Regions from separate parts of the Homo sapiens genome. Here regions 1 and 3 are each linked to region 2. Evidence: promoter capture Hi-C in 16 types of primary human blood cells and fetal thymus (Javierre and others, 2016). All regions are on one chromosome and are shown on one strand. Each heading gives the region's core, a stretch centred on a gene start or on the middle of the fragment in contact. The rest is flanking DNA. Distances are from core to core; before and after follow the strand shown.

What was found. The method cuts DNA at HindIII sites, captures the fragments that hold promoters and counts their contacts. A CHiCAGO score of 5 or more calls a contact.
Region 1: a contact is called between a fragment that was not itself captured here and the fragment with the promoter of TRIM41 in region 2, in 12 of 17 cell types (megakaryocytes, total B cells, activated CD4 T cells and 9 more). The highest score is 11.1, in megakaryocytes.
Region 3: a contact is called between a fragment that was not itself captured here and the fragment with the promoter of TRIM41 in region 2, in 5 of 17 cell types (total B cells, naive B cells, total CD4 T cells and 2 more). The highest score is 9.7, in total B cells.

The regions. Positions count from the first base shown.
Region 1 is chr5:180,801,266-180,804,235 of GRCh38, forward strand. It overlaps MGAT1 (alpha-1,3-mannosyl-glycoprotein 2-beta-N-acetylglucosaminyltransferase), which reads right to left and starts at 1,541. Exons shown (of 2, transcript NM_002406.4): 1 at 1,415-1,541. RefSeq lists enhancers at 853-1,560, 1,561-2,267, 2,411-2,520 and silencers at 1,371-1,730, 1,901-1,980, 1,991-2,040. The HindIII fragment of the contact is 1,346 bases long and covers 841-2,186 here.
Region 2 is chr5:181,221,910-181,224,881 of GRCh38, forward strand. TRIM41 (tripartite motif containing 41) reads left to right here and starts at 1,372. Exons shown (of 6, transcript NM_033549.5): 1 at 1,372-2,903. The coding sequence starts at 2,091. It overlaps TRK-CTT2-3 (tRNA-Lys (anticodon CTT) 2-3), which reads right to left and starts at 142; the gene lies at 70-142. It overlaps TRV-CAC1-5 (tRNA-Val (anticodon CAC) 1-5), which reads right to left and starts at 558; the gene lies at 486-558. MIR4638 (microRNA 4638) reads right to left here and starts at 724; the gene lies at 657-724. RefSeq lists silencers at 1-160, 411-640, 1,911-2,120 and enhancers at 1,371-1,600, 2,268-2,972. The HindIII fragment of the contact is 16,690 bases long and covers 1-2,972 here.
Region 3 is chr5:180,825,629-180,828,604 of GRCh38, forward strand. It overlaps a transcript of ZFP62 not described here. Among named protein-coding and RNA genes, the nearest start is that of LINC00847, 3.8 kb to the right of the region's middle. The HindIII fragment of the contact is 263 bases long and covers 1,285-1,547 here.

The DNA of each region.
Region 1 (2,970 bases), core at 264-2,763, 420 kb before region 2:
CGAGAAGTTATATTTAGCTGTAAAATTAAGTACAGAAGTGGAAGAAATGGTAACAGATTTTCCCTTCTATCTCTGCTTTGCTTAAAGTTAAAAAGCACTACGTAAAAATTCCAGAAAATATAGACATGTCACAGGTAATGGAACTCTAACTGAACTGCTTTCATGTTCGTTCTTAGACCTTGGCTGGACTCCTGTATCATGTACCAGGCCCATAATTTCAGGACGGAAAAAAAAGAAAGGTAGTCAGAGAAGATACACTAAATAATTCAAGAGTTGAGAGAATAAGACCTAGGAGGGAAGGGATGCAGGTTATTCATCCTGGAAAAGAAGAGCTAAATACAAGTGCCACAAAAGGCATGAGGCCTGGGATTCAGGCGATCCAGCCAGCAAGCCAGGCAACTTTGGACAAGTCACTTGACCCACTTGTACCTTAGTTCTCTCATCTATAAGGTGACAGGGTTGATTTGGTTCATCACAAGGTCCCACTGCCTGGATACTGACGACAGTGACAATTTCCCTACTGCCCCGAACAGTAATGAGTTTCCCTTGTTAACACAGGCCACTGAGGTCAGGCATACCGCAGTGCTTCTAACAGTGAGAATGAGACACAGAAGCAGGGAAATGGGTGAGCTCAATGGTCCCCAGAATTGGGAAGGACCAGGACGCAGTGATTGCTGATGGAAGGCAGATCCTGGATGATGTGAGCACGTAAGAGCAAAGGCTACACGGCCTGAAAAAATACCGTAAATGACTGAAAATAAAGCTGGGCAACATCTCAGCCAGTGATGTTCTAAAACAAAACGGCAGACCCACTACAGCAGCAAGGGTTAACCAAAGTGAAGCTTCAGCCTTCAGGGAGCCGGCCAGCCACAGTCCCTCTACTTCAGAGTTTATCAGACGCGGGCACTGCACGTCCCGGGGCTCTCTACTCCACACACGTTAGCAAACAGGAAGAAAAGTTTTCTTGCCAACTTATTATATATATATTTCAACACTGAATCAACATTTCCTTTCTGCTGAGGAGAATCAGCCTCTATTAACTTGGGGAAAGGATGCTGGAGTGAGGTTAGGGGGGAAAGGCCACTCCCCAATCCCACCCCCTCCCTGCCCCGCACGCACGGACGCCCGGGGCCGAGTTTCACAACATCCTCCCCAGTCCGCGGAGCCCGCCCTTCCTCTAACAGCTGGAGGCCCGGGATTCCGAAAGCAGAAGGCGGAGTTCCAACCTCTCGGCTCGGGAAGGGACTAACGCGCAGCTGGCACCGGGTCGGACCGGGCCGCTCCCCAGCCAAGCCCCCTCTCGCTAGCACTCATGGGCACCGGGGCTTTGGGGCGACCCGACGTCCCTTGGGCTCCCTCTCGGCGCCCGCGAGGCCTCCCCCGGTCTGACCTCCGTCCCCGGACACCTACTCACCAGGTCCTCCCGACGTCCTGGCCCCGAACTTGGCCTGCTCCGGGGCGCAGGGAGCGAGCCCGGTGCCCAGGCGCGTCCCAAGCGCTGCCGCGGCCGCCTCGCCTTTCGACTCGCCAGCCCTTTCTGCGGCGCGCCGGGGCCGGACGGCCGGGCGGGCAACGTGGCCCTTCCCCGGCAGGCGGGGCGGGGCGGGGCGGACTGAGGGGCGTGACCGACAGCCCCGCCGCGCCCCGCCCCCCGGCCGGCGTCCGCCAGGCCCCCTCCTCCTGGCCCGCCTCCTTTCCCCGCCGCTTCTCAGTCAACCCAGGACCCAAGTTTTCCCAGGACCCCAACTTCGGGAGTCGGCTTTCCGGCTCCCTGGCGCAACCCTGAGGGTGGACGCCCGACCCCACCCCTGCCCTCGGCCCTCCAGCGCAGCTGCCCAGCCTGGAGCCGCGCCTGAAGTGGGCCCGCAGTCCAGGAAAGGCGTTCACCAAACCCTAGGCCAAGGGCTGGGAGCCAGTCCCCCCACCCCAACCCAGGGGAGGCTGAGGAGCCCGGGTGGGAGCCCCAGGGTCGCGTGGGGCAGGGACAGAACAGGAACCAGGGTGCCCGACGGGGGGCCGGGGGGAAACACCTGTGCCAAAGCAAGCCGGGGCCAGCTGTGGCTTCTTCCCTTTTGTTTTTCCTTGGTGGGTGGGGAATGAGAGCTTCAGTTCTGAGTAAAGAAAGCGAAGAGAGACCTACCAGCAGGGGAGGCCCACCAGCCCTAGGCGGGAAGGACTCGGTCACAAGCTTTGGCGGAAGCACCATGGAAAAGCCTAGAACGGGTCTGCGCCCGGCTGGTGTTTTAAAGGGGAGGAAGGTGCGGACCTGAAGAGGAGGTGGAGGTGGACCCAGGCCCACCGAGGGGAGGGAGGGACAGCTCTTCCATAGCAAATACCTGTCGCTGAGCCAGGAGTAAAGTCTGGCCGGGAGGAGGACAGACGCAGAAGACCAGGGGCTCCAGCGCACAGAGCCAGTTTCGCCAGCGATCAGGTCTGAGGCCTGGATTCCACGAGGCCGGTGCAAGCCAGGAGCCAGCCCCACTCCCTCGCCCAGCTCCCTCCGGCCTGGCCCTCTGCAGAAGCCTGATGCCCACCCAGCTGTCTCACCATGGGACCCCAGGCGGTGAGGGTGGGTAGCCGAGGACTACAGGCTGCTGGGTAGCTGACTTCCCCAAGAAGGGCTGCTGCCATGTGATCAGGACCCACGCCCCTGACATCAACCCCTCCCCCGTGTTCCAGAGCACGGAGCAGCCCGGAACTCTGCGGCCTGTGGTTACTGACTGACTGCTCACTAACTTGTTTCTACATGAAACCACGAATCGTGCAGGGTTCTAGAGAAACAAAGGGCCGCGCGCACCCGCAGGCCCCTGCGTGGAGGCGAGGACCTAAATCAAAACTGCTAAGGGGTCACCAGGCATGGTGAGGGGCCTCACGGGCCAAACCCTCCCTCGGCCTGTCCTTCAAGCCTCAGCAGCTCTGCGGAGTGAGCGTTATCATCCCCATTCTACAGATAACTAGTTTGAGGCTCAG
Region 2 (2,972 bases), core at 122-2,621:
GGTACAGAGAATACCATTTGTGCACTTAGGTAACACAACTTGCCTTAACCTTTCCAAAAAGCGAAATTACGCCCAACGTGGGGCTCGAACCCACGACCCTGAGATTAAGAGTCTCATGCTCTACCGACTGAGCTAGCCGGGCGGCCATGTCTGTATTCTAACTTTGTCTCTGAAGATGGAGGTTACCCTCAGAGGTGTAAGCACGTTTCCACTGTGCAAATACTAAGAAGCGCCTGCGCCTGGCTCTGTTCTAGGCACTAGAGCCGAGGATCTGAAATCTACGGATTCCTGTACATGTGATGGCTGCATAGGCTTCAGAAGGGAAGAGCAAGAGATTAGGTGAGGGGCGAGACCTGAATTTACTTGAGTAGTGCTCTCCTTCAGTTTTGCCCCAGTCCGTGTTCCTCCGAAGCGCAGGGACACACATGTCCTTCCTGCCACGTAAGGCCGGCCTCGGGAGAGAATCTCCCGAACAGACCAAAACGTGTTTCCGCCCGGTTTCGAACCGGGGACCTTTCGCGTGTGAGGCGAACGTGATAACCACTACACTACGGAAACCACCTTGGCTACTTTCCTGCCGGCATCGTCCTGAAGACACACACGGCTGAGACGGCCGGGATAGCTCTAGGCAAGCGCCCTTGTAGGACAGGCCCGGGGACCCCTGCCGCGGCCGGCTGAGCGGTGTCCAGGTTCTGGAGCCGGACTTGTCCACCGCAGCCGAGTCCGCAGGTCCTGTAATGGCCTAGCATAGTTCACCCACGAGGGTTCGTGGTTTTTGGCGCGTTTGATCTGACATACTCAGAGGCCTGACCACCCCCCTAGGAAGCGCGACGTCCATCTGGAGTTTTCCCGCGAGCCGCCTTGAGAGCAGGGTAAGTTCTGCAGGCCCAGCCCTGGCGTCACGCTGTGTCTGGCACTCACTGGAGATTCTGTACATAAATCATGGCCCCGTCATTTTTCTCGCATCAAACAACATTTATTTATTTATGTATCGACATCAAATCTCTATAAAAATAAAATTTAAAGAGCTATTTAAGCATCAAGTATTATTTCTACCGCACAAAGCATCTATTTTTGCAGAGATGCTGTGAGAATGTAGATGTAATGATTCGTCACCACTTCTTCACTGCTGGGCAGTTAGGGAAGTTCATCTAAACCATGAGACAGTGTCCGGTTGGCAGTTTCTACCTCGGATGCGAAACGCCGACTACAGTTGGGGAAGGGTGGGGCGTCTGCTGCCCTAACCCGCGAAGCGCTTTCTCAGGCCCCGCCCCCGGTCCGACCCGGACGACCCTCTGAGTCCTCCACAACGAAGTCGTCTGCCTAGAAGGGCCGGAAGTACTTCAGGGCGCGCCGCGGACCCACCCCCTCGCTTCCGGCATCGGCTGTGGGGAGTACCGGCTGCAGTCGGCTGTGCCGGGAGGGTAGGATGGCGTCTGGCCGATGCGGTGATAGCACCGAAAGCAGACGGCCGCCAGGCGCTCCCCCTACCCCCCGAAGTTTCTCCCCAGCGGCGGGGGATGGGGGTAGGCGGTTCCTCTGTTCTTTCTGCGTTCCCCGCGGCCTCTTACCACAGAGACGCGGGCCTCCACCGTCCTAGCCCTCCCGCCCTGTTCTCTAGTGCGGACTAGAGCGTCTCCTCGCCATTTCCTGTCGCCCTGGGGCCCCGCGGGGAAAAAGGGGGAGTAGCAGGACAGCGGAGGGAAGTCGCGAGCTTAGGTGGTGTGTAGACGCCGGAAGTGTTGGGAAGGAGGCCGGAAGCTAGGGGCGGGGCCAGGAAGTGAGGAGGGGCGGGGGTTTATGAGGAGTCCAAGGGAGCATTGGGGCAGACTTGTACTCAGAGCCACCTGAGGGACTTGGCGGTGGCGCCCAGCACTGTCCCCTCCCCTCGTAGAGACACGGTTGTCGTTTGGGAGTAGGGAACACTGTGTTGGGGTGGGTTGTCGGCAGGACATCTCTCTGGCTGCTCTTGGGGCGAGGTGTGGAGGGGCAGGGCTGGGGGTGGAGCCGGGTCGCCAGGGCGTCGGTAGGGAAGACCCCCGCCCCTCGCCCCCCCACCGAACCTCTACACTGGCTGGCTGGACACTAAGATGGCTGCCGTTGCCATGACACCCAACCCTGTGCAGACCCTTCAGGAGGAGGCGGTGTGCGCCATCTGCCTCGATTACTTCACGGACCCCGTGTCCATCGGCTGCGGGCACAACTTCTGCCGAGTTTGTGTAACCCAGTTGTGGGGTGGGGAGGATGAGGAGGACAGAGATGAGTTAGATCGGGAGGAGGAGGAGGAGGACGGAGAGGAGGAGGAAGTGGAGGCTGTGGGGGCTGGCGCGGGGTGGGACACCCCCATGCGGGATGAAGACTACGAGGGTGACATGGAGGAGGAGGTCGAGGAGGAAGAAGAGGGTGTGTTCTGGACCAGTGGCATGAGCAGGTCCAGCTGGGACAACATGGACTATGTGTGGGAGGAGGAGGACGAGGAGGAAGACCTGGACTACTACTTGGGGGACATGGAGGAGGAGGACCTGAGGGGGGAGGATGAGGAGGACGAGGAGGAAGTGCTGGAGGAGGTTGAGGAAGAGGATCTAGACCCCGTCACCCCACTGCCCCCGCCTCCAGCCCCTCGGAGGTGCTTCACATGCCCTCAGTGCCGAAAGAGCTTTCCTCGGCGGAGCTTCCGCCCCAACCTGCAGCTGGCCAATATGGTCCAGGTGATTCGGCAGATGCACCCAACCCCTGGTCGAGGGAGCCGCGTGACCGATCAGGGCATCTGTCCCAAACACCAAGAAGCCCTGAAGCTCTTCTGCGAGGTAGACGAAGAGGCCATCTGTGTGGTGTGCCGAGAATCCAGGAGCCACAAACAGCACAGCGTGGTGCCATTGGAGGAGGTGGTGCAGGAGTACAAGGTGAGAGAAGTACAGAGAGAAGATGGGAGTTTAGTGGGGGGATGGAGAGGAAGTAAGGGGACCTGGGAA
Region 3 (2,976 bases), core at 166-2,665, 400 kb before region 2:
GGGTGGCAACAGGGCCAGAGGACGAGCAGAGACACAAGAGGCCTCCTAAGGCCTCAGCTCAGAACTAACAAACTCGCTTCTGCCCACATTCCATTGGCCAAAGCCCTGCATGAGTTGTGGAAAAGTACTCTCCACTTTGGTGAACATTAGTAAGAGAAAAGAGGGAAGGAAGAATTGCAGGCAAGTAATACCATCTACCTCGGCCTCCTATGCAGCTTGGTGTGTACCTGCACCTAAGTTCTGGCCTGTAGGATATGAGGGGAAGTGAGGTGTGCAACTCCAGGACCTGCCCCTGTAAAGACTGGGCCCTGCCTTTCCCCTGCCCATCTGCTGGGGACATGGTAGGACTGCAGCAGTTGCCTGGCCCAGAGATAGACGGCACAGCTATCCTGCTGGTCCTACCTCTAGACCGCCACATGTACCTCACTTACACTGCTTGGGTTTTGCATCTTAAAACCCCAATTAGCACACCATTCATTCATTCATTCCCCCATCAACAAGTATGTACTGAGTGTCTTTTTGCCAGGCATTGCACTAGGTTTTGGAGAGATGACAGTGAACAAAAACAAACTTGGCTGTTCTGTATCTTGGCTGTGGCAGTGGTTACACAAGCCTACACATGTGATAAAACTGCATAGAACTAAATACACACACACAGAGGAATGCCAGTCAAACTGGGAATTAAAGAATCAAAAAGTCACTGGTGACTCAACATGGCAGCAGTCCAGCTCAACCATACAGATGACAGCAGTGTGCTGAAGTATGACAAAGGAATGATTTAAAAGGAATTGAGGCAGAGCTGCCAGGCAGGCATGCTCACCTTGGACTTTGAAGCAAGAGAGACATAAATAAAGGTCTTTGTTCTGTAAGTAGAGTGTTCATATAATTTATCATCCAAACTGAGACACCTGTGAAAATAATTACACTGGAACAACTTGTGTGACTGATCAGCTGGTCACTCCATCTTTAAGTCATTGTCTTGTTGAGTCTGTTATCAGAGCCCATGGAGTGCCATGCATGGACAGCTTATTTAGGCACAACAGAGAAAAATTAAAGGGAAGGAGGAGCAAGGAAGAGTGGAAAGGATAAAGAAATGGTGAGCATTGGCAGGAAACAATGCAAGGAGAAAAGGGAACAGGAATCGGATTTTCTACTAATTTGCTGTGTGTTCCTGTGTCAGTTTATAAATTAGTGTCTATATTTACAACCGATTGGAAGAACGAACTTTTTAGATCCTCTCATCCAACAAAGCTGCAGATTTCTTTATTGAGATGGAGTTGAGAAAGCTTTAAAACAGGCCAAAGCAACATGAGGACATGTGTCATGAGAAGAGAAATGGTCTTCCATAAATTGAGTGCTGGGGAAGGCTTGGTGTAGGTAATGTAGAGGTTCTCAAACTGTGGAGAAGCTCAAAATGTGTTCCTTTGAGCCTTGGTCTTCTAGTTAGGCCACTGTCTAAGCCACTATACAAAAAGACACCAAACACACTGGCTTCAACAAGACAAGCCTCTGTTTCTCTTTCGGGTGACAGGAGAAGCAGAGGACTAAGCTTTCTTTTCCAAGTCATCACCTGAAAGTTGCCCCTTCACTTCTGCTCACATTGCATTGGCCAGAGACTTGAAAGGAAGCTGGGCACGTGCTGTGGGGAAAAGAAAGAGAGATCAGATTGTTACTGTGTCTGTATAGAAAGAAGTAGACGTAGGAGACTCCATTCTGTTCTGTACTAAGAAAAATTCTGCCTTGAGATTCTGTTAATCTGTGACCTTACCCCCAACCCTGTGCTCCCTGAAACGTGTGCTGTGTCAACTCAGGGTTAAATGGATTAAGGGCTGTGCAGGGTGTGCTTTGTTAAACAGATGCTTGAAGGCAGCATGCTCCTTAAGAGTCATCACCACTCCCTAATCTCAAGTACCCAGGGACACAAACACTGCGGAAGGCCGCAGGGACCTCTGCTGAGGAAAGCCAGGTATTGTCCAAGGTTTCTCCCCATGTGATAGTCTGCAATATGGCCTCATGGGAAGGGAAAGACCTGACCGTCCCCCAGCCCGACACCCGTAAAGGGTCTGTGCTGAGGAGGATTAGTATAAGAGGAAGGCATGCCTCTTGCAGTTGAGACAAGAGGAAGGCATCTGTCTCCTGCCCGTCCCTGGGCAATGGAATGTCTCGGTATAAAACCCAATTTACGTTCCATCTACTGAGATAGGGAAAAACCGCCTTAGGGCTGGAGGTGGGACATGCGGGCAGCAATACTGCTTTGTAAAGCATTGAGATGTTTATGTGTATGCATATCTAAAAGCACAGCACTTGATTCTTTACCTTGTCTATGATGCAAAGACCTTTGTTCACGTGTTTGTCTGCTGACTCTCTCCCCGCTATTGTCTTGTGACCCTGACACATCCCCCTCTCGGAGAAACACCCACAAATGATCAATAAATACTAAGGGAACTCAGAGGCTGGCGGGATCCTCCATATGCTGAACGCTGGTTCCCCGGGCCCCCTTATTTCTTTCTCTATACTTTGTCTCTGTGTCTTTTTCTTTTCCAAGTCTCTCGTTCCACCTAACGAGAAACACCCACAGGTGTGGAGGGGCAACCCACCCCTTCAACGTGCCCTGCCAAACCTCTGGTGGTAAGGCTTCGATTACTAAATGGAAGAAAGGGACACAGGGTGTTTTGGAGTTGACACCTAGCTCTTTGGAGGTGACTCAGATCACTCAGGAGAGTCCGTAAGGCCCGGTGGGCAACACCCCAATCCTCCAGTCTCTACCCAAGAAGCTCCACCTTCATCTATTTGAGGGTTCTATGTTGCGGGAAGTCAGGGACCCCGAATGGAAGGACCAGCTGGAGCTGTGGCAGAAGAACATAAATTGTGAAGATTTTATTTTAATATGGACATTTATCAGTTCCCAAATAATGCTTTTATAATTTCTTATGCCTGTCTTTACTTTAATCTCTTAATCCTGTTATCTTCATAAGC